Regions from separate parts of the Homo sapiens genome. Here region 2 is linked to region 1. Evidence: promoter capture Hi-C in 16 types of primary human blood cells and fetal thymus (Javierre and others, 2016). All regions are on one chromosome and are shown on one strand. Each heading gives the region's core, a stretch centred on a gene start or on the middle of the fragment in contact. The rest is flanking DNA. Distances are from core to core; before and after follow the strand shown.

The links. The method cuts DNA at HindIII sites, captures the fragments that hold promoters and counts their contacts. A CHiCAGO score of 5 or more calls a contact.
Region 2: a contact is called between a fragment that was not itself captured here and the fragment with the promoter of OSBPL10 in region 1, in 2 of 17 cell types (naive B cells and total B cells). The highest score is 6.8, in naive B cells.

The regions. Positions count from the first base shown.
Region 1 is chr3:31,979,733-31,982,859 of GRCh38, reverse strand. OSBPL10 (oxysterol binding protein like 10) reads left to right here and starts at 1,598. Exons shown (of 12, transcript NM_017784.5): 1 at 1,598-1,961. The coding sequence starts at 1,681. It overlaps ZNF860 (zinc finger protein 860), which reads right to left and starts at 1,110. Exons shown (of 2, transcript NM_001137674.3): 1 at 958-1,110. RefSeq lists a silencer at 1,839-1,908. The HindIII fragment of the contact is 3,310 bases long and covers 529-3,127 here.
Region 2 is chr3:31,802,355-31,805,481 of GRCh38, reverse strand. The region is part of intron 4 of OSBPL10 (oxysterol binding protein like 10); the gene reads left to right. Among named protein-coding and RNA genes, the nearest start is that of OSBPL10-AS1, 100 kb to the right of the region's middle. The HindIII fragment of the contact is 1,914 bases long and covers 711-2,624 here.

The sequences.
Region 1 (3,127 bases), core at 349-2,848:
GGATACTCTTTCCATAGGAAGCGGCAGTAAATATTTTGAACAAATGAACATTCTTGCATAGTTTATTACAGCCGGTATCATTTGTCCCATTTTGCAGTGAGAAAACTAAGGCTAAAAGAGGTAATTTGATCAAGGTCATAGGTTAGAATTCAGCTCTGAATGGCTTCAAATTTGGTCCAGGCAAGCTCTTTTCAGATTTTTTTTTTTTTAACACTATGTAGGCACCTGGAATTGTAATTTACTCAGGGGCACAACCACTTCTCTTCAACTCCAGAAGCTTCTCCGTGCATCTCTAGAGCTAAACCACCCATGAAATCTTCCTGGAAGGATGTGAAGCTAGAAAGGGGTTGGGCTCGGGGAACTGTCCCTTTGAGAGCTGACTTTTCCATTTAGTAATTTTTTTTAACTCTTGAAGTATTTATCTGCTTGATGGGTTTGTAGATCCTTTGGACGGAGATCACCTATCATCTATCACCTTTTGTTTTGTCTGTGTGTGTGTGAGAGAGAGAGTCTGAGTTCCTCAAAGCTTTTTTCTAGGTAATTTTTGATACTTCAGATTACAATGGATATCTATATTCACAAAAAATATTAGTGGGATAGAAAGAGTATCTTTAGGTAGGAAGAGGGGCGCAGAAGTTACAGCCAACACAGAGAATCCTTCAATGTTTGTAAATATCTGTTAATTTCCCTTGCCTCTGGAGCAGTTTTCCCGGTTTCAGAGCCTCTGCTCCTAGGTGCACGTGCAGTGTGGTAGCAATGGATAGGTTTTGACTTGCCAGGTTTATGCGTGCCATTCAGGGCAGGGGATTAGGGTTAGGCCAGTGAGTGACCTAGGACACTCAATTTAAGGAAGCACTCGCACAAACCTGAGAGTTCGCGCGCCTCACCCCAGCCCAGCCGTGTGTCTGTTAAGCATTTATCATAATCCTGCTGCATGAAAATGCCCGGCGAGCTTACCTGTGAGGATCACCTGCCACTCCCCTCCTCCGCCAGACAACGCGGAGGGCCTCCCTGAGCTGTGACTTTGCTCCGCCGGTGATAATTTCCAGGTTACTGTGTAGGAGCGTCTGGCGCAGCATCGTGTGCGGAAGACCGAGAGAGGGAGTGTGCGTGTGAGCCTGTCAGGCCGGGCGGGTCCATATCCGGGTGGACCGGGTGGGTGGGGCTGCCCCTCCCTCCAGGTCCCGAGGTGGATAAGGGGTGGGGAGTGACGTGCAGAGATTCCCTTTCGCCCCTTCGGATCCAAGAGAGGGTGGCAGAAGGAATGCGTGGGTGACTTGGCGTGGATTTAGGGCGTGCCCACCCTGCAGATCGGCCTCCTAGAGTGTCCCGAGGGCCTGAGAGGCCGCAGGGACACGAAGGAAGAGAAGGAGGAACCCGAAGAGGGCTCGCCTAGCCGGCCACCCGCTCCGAACTTGCCCGGGAAACTAGTGCGGAGGGAGGGGCCGGGCCCTGGCCGCGGCGGGAGGAGGGGCGGCCGCAGCTGCATCCAGCCCCGTTGGCTTCCTTCCCAGCTCTCCTTCGCCTCCTCCTCCTCTTCCTCCTGTATGAGTCAGGCATTTCCCGGGGATTTGGAGCAGGCACGCGCGGCCCGGGCGTCCGGAGCTGTAGCAGCAGCAGCAGCCGCCGTGCCGGGGCCGCCACCGCGGCGGGCACCCGCGTCCCGGGCGCCCACGGACCATGGAGAGGGCAGTCCAGGGCACAGACGGCGGCGGGGGTAGCAACAGCAGCAGCCGCAGCAGCAGCCGTGCTACCTCGGCGGGCTCCTCGCCCTCCTGCTCTCTGGCGGGCCGGGGGGTCTCCAGCCGGTCGGCGGCGGCCGGGCTCGGCGGCGGGGGAAGCCGCAGCAGCCCGGGCTCTGTGGCCGCTAGCCCGTCCGGGGGAGGCGGCCGCAGGAGGGAGCCGGCGCTCGAGGGCGTGCTCAGCAAATACACCAACCTCCTCCAGGGCTGGCAGAACAGGTAACGCGCCAGCCGCCCGCGCCACCGCGCGCCGCTGTGTGTGTGTGTGTGTGTGTGCGTGCGTGTGTGTATGTGTGTCTGTGTATGTGTGTGCGCGCGCGATTGTGCCTTCAGCGAACCCAGTGATGCCTCCCAACGGTGCCCTTCCTGCGTCCCTGCTCCCCTCCAGGTGGGGTTCTCAGGATGGGGCGCGCCGTGGCTCCACCCCGGGACCGCACCGCAGTGGCGGGGAGGGAGGCGAGAGCCCTGGTTTTCTTCTATGCTGGCACCTGCAGAGACTGGAGTGGTGGCAGGAGGATCGTGCTGGTCCCCGTGCTCTGCTTGTCCGCGGTTTCCCGCACGCCTGAAGAATGACTGGGAAAGGGAGGCAGAAGGGGCGTGCTTTGTGCCGGGGTGAAAAAGCGTTAGCACGTCCGCTCCGATTACAGTAATTCTCTAAGTAACAGTTCATTTTAAAGTTTGGTGTTTCAGAACACCACCACCATCAACAAAAAACCTGCCACTTGTCATCCTGGGCGACTGTGCATACTCCTGCCCCAGTTTGTGCCTTGCAGCCTCCGATGTTTGTAATGGAAGTTTTGTTTAAAAACAGAAAGAGGCCGGGCGCGGTGGCTCACCTCTGTAATCCCAGTACTTTGGGAGGCCGAGGCGGGCAGATCACGAAGTCAGGAGTTCGAGACCAGCCTCGCCAACATGGTGAAAACCCGTCTCTACTAAAAACAAAAAAAATTAGCCGGGCGTGGCGGCGCGCCTGTAATTCCAGCTACTCCGGAGGCTGAGGCAGGAGAATCGCTTGAACCCCGGAGGCAGAGGTTGCAGTGAGCCGAGATCGCGCCATTGCAATCTAGCCGGGGCGACAGTGCGAGACTCCGACTCAAAAAAAATAAATAAATAAAATAAAATAAAATAAAATAATAAAAAGAAAGAAAAAATACCCTCCCCCTTTTAATATTAGTAGCAATTTACATTATTATCATTATTTCCTCTTCAGGTCCCATTTGAAGTTTCCTGCTCACTTCCCCCTTGCAGTTGAGAAGCCTAGTTATGGACACGTGGAAGGATGGGGCTGTCGAGGAAAGGGGCTCAGGAGGCACTTGGAATGGTGGTAGTGTGTGTGATCTGCCATCGTGAGGAAGACAAGAACAGATGTGGCACTACTGTTTACT
Region 2 (3,127 bases), core at 418-2,917, 180 kb after region 1:
TGTGGAATACCAGGCAATTCATAGTTGCATTGACTAGTTTTCTTTCAGCTCATAATAAAAGCCATCTTCTGTTTGAAGCCCCATGAGCTTCTGGAAGGGCACTGTGGATGAGAGCATGGGAATGCAGTAGAGAGAGATACGACTATATTTAGTCATTCTTTGAGACCAGCATTTCTGGTAATAGGTGCAAGGACCTGGTGTGAGGAGAGAGCATTGCAAATTCTCAGAAAGGGTTAACATATGTAATGTGTTGACAGGTTGTGAATTTTGTTTTAAAGGTTCATCTCAAAGGAGGAGTCAGAAATACCTTCCGTGAAAAAGCTTGCATGGTTCATTTTTAAAGAAACTGCAAACTCATACCAGTTCATTTAAAGTGTAATCAAGACAAAGTCTTGAAGCTCAGCATGCTCAGATACATCAGACCCTGAGCACCTTTTACATTAAAATAATAATTACGAATTTTGTCAATGATTTTGAAAACCATAGGGAAAGCCAGGTGTAATAGTGAGAATATAAAACATGCTCCCTTGGAGACAGTGTTGTTTGTTTGAATTAAAATCATTCCCACCAAACAGACACACAAAGTAAGGACCTTGACCATTTAAACAGCTAAAAAAAAATTGCAAACCAAAGCAGATTTAGTAGTTGGGAAAGTGAATGAAGTCTTATTAAAGTTGAGTAACTTCTGAAAAAGCTTAATTTTAAAAGCTTCATTTAGATCACGAATGCTGCTGTTTATTGCTGTTGGCAGTCAGCACTTCGTGTTTTGGTAAAATTACATCTTGTCCTCATGAAGCGCGTTTGGTAGGCGCTGTTACGTTATGGCCACTGTGGGATGGGGAGCTCTACCTTTAATGGTGCTTGTCTGGGAAGATGGCCAGTAATTTTGGACTAAGTAACTTTGGTTGTTAAAATGAAGGGCTTCAGATATTTTTCTCTCCCCTTCTGTCCTAATACGGGTCTCCTTCATTGTTAGATCACATTCTGCTTTTTTGCTGATTGATGATGACATCAGTTTGTTTACCCTAGAGGCTGGGTCATTTGCTTACTTGTAAGTCAGTGGAACTGGCTTTTGCATCTTTGCTACTGACTAGCTGAGTGCCCTCAAGCAGGGTTTTTTAACCTCTCCTTGCCTCGTTTTTCTAATCTGTAAAACGGAGATAATATCAGAATTATTATCAGGATTAAAAATCTGTGATGTTGATAGTATTGGATTTCAACCCTTAGAATAACATAAATATACATGATTCGTGTTGATATAAATAATAGGATGAACAAATACATGGGGTGGGGTGAGTAAAAGCTCTTCCTTAAAATAGACTTCTAACTAATAAATGTAGAATAATGAGGGAAATGAAAGATCACCATTGAGCAAACATCATAGTAATGATTGTTGCAGGTCAGAACCATTGATGTACACTAATGTTAGGTGAAACTATGATGAAAAACAGGATATGTGAATAGTCTCAAAGTATCTCCCTGTAGAATACTTATTTTTTTACAAAGAGAAAACAGTTATTTTACAGAGGAGAAAACTAGTGGACACCACCGCAACCAAGTGATCATGGTTAATACCACCAGTAATAAAGACATAAAAACATGTACCACCAAATATGATGCATTGAGAAGGTACAACATCACCTCTGTGTTATTCTTACCAAAAGTGCACATGACCCCAATCTAGGAAATACTAGGGACATTTTGAAAATAACTGGCTTGGACTTTTAAAAAGTATGATAGATTAAAGGAGATATAATAGTCAAATGCAACATGGGATCCCGGTTTGGATCTTGGACCAGAAAAAAAAGCTATTAGTGGGAAAACTGAAAACAAGGTCTGTAGATTGAGGTAGTTGTATTTTGTCCATATAAATTTCTTCATTTGAATAACTACTTTTATGTAAGATGTTAACCTTAGGGGAAGTTGCGCAAAGGGTATACAAAAATGCCATATGATTTTTGCAACATCTCTGTAAGTCCAAAATTATTTTAAAGTAAAATGTTTTGAAATACCCATCATACATGTGAGGTACTTTTGGTTTGAAGGAAGATGGTTATAAACGTCCCTGGTTCTGCCAGGGACTTAGAGGGGCTTTGAAGCATGTGAGAAGGTGCTCTTTTGTTCTGTCACGGTGCTATAGACTTGGCAGTCTTATCCCCTGAAGGCTGGATATCACTGTTCCTCCCTAGAAGACCTTAGCCTCTTCAGCTGACCTCAGGCCAGCGCCTCTCTGGGGAGAAGGGGGGCTGTAACTAGTCATTGGCCTGGTAGAGCTTTGCTTGGCATGTGGAAGTGGAACCATCAGAAGCCACTTTCTTGTTGCCTTCTTCTTTTGAAAAGGTCACGTCTGGGTGGAGCCGATGTTACACACTGTTCTCATTGATTCACAAAAAATTATTCAGGGGATTCTCACTGAATCATGTGTGATTTTAGAAAAGCCACTTTGTAGACTAGAACAGTATATTAGTTCAGCTCAGACTTAGATGCTGTAAAAAAAAAAAAAAAAAAAAAAAGGACCCAATACCATTGTCTAAATAAGGTACAAGTTTGTTATTCCCTTGTAGATGGACCAGAGGTGACCAACTAGAGCTGACTGGGTGGCTCTTTGATCACTGGCACAAGCTTCCATCCTGGGTCAACCCTGGCTATCCAGTTGTCACCTTTTTCCAAGTAGTGGGAAAAGAGGAAGAAAGAGGAATGTACTCTTGTTTTTAATGGATTTCACTTTTATTCAGGATCCGTTTGCAGGAACTTGGCCGCTTGGTCACGCCTCTAAGTGCAAGTGAGGCTAGGCAACAAAATGCCCTACTAAGAGCTGGAGGCAGGCCGGAATTGTTGAAAAGAAGGGGAATTAATACCAGGAGAGAGAGAGGAGTCTTCCACTGTCTTGGTACAATCCAGAGAATTCTCTTTTTTTTTTTTTTTTTTTTTTGATACCCAGGCTAGAGTGCAGTGGCGCATGATCTTGGCTCACTGCAACCTCCACCTCCTGGGTTCAAGTGATTCTCCTGCCTCAGCCTCCTAAGTTCCTGGGATTACAGGTGCCCGCCACCATGCCTGGCTAATTTTTGTAATTTTTTTTTTTTAGTAGAGATGGGGTTTCACCATGTTGCCCAGGCTGGTCTTG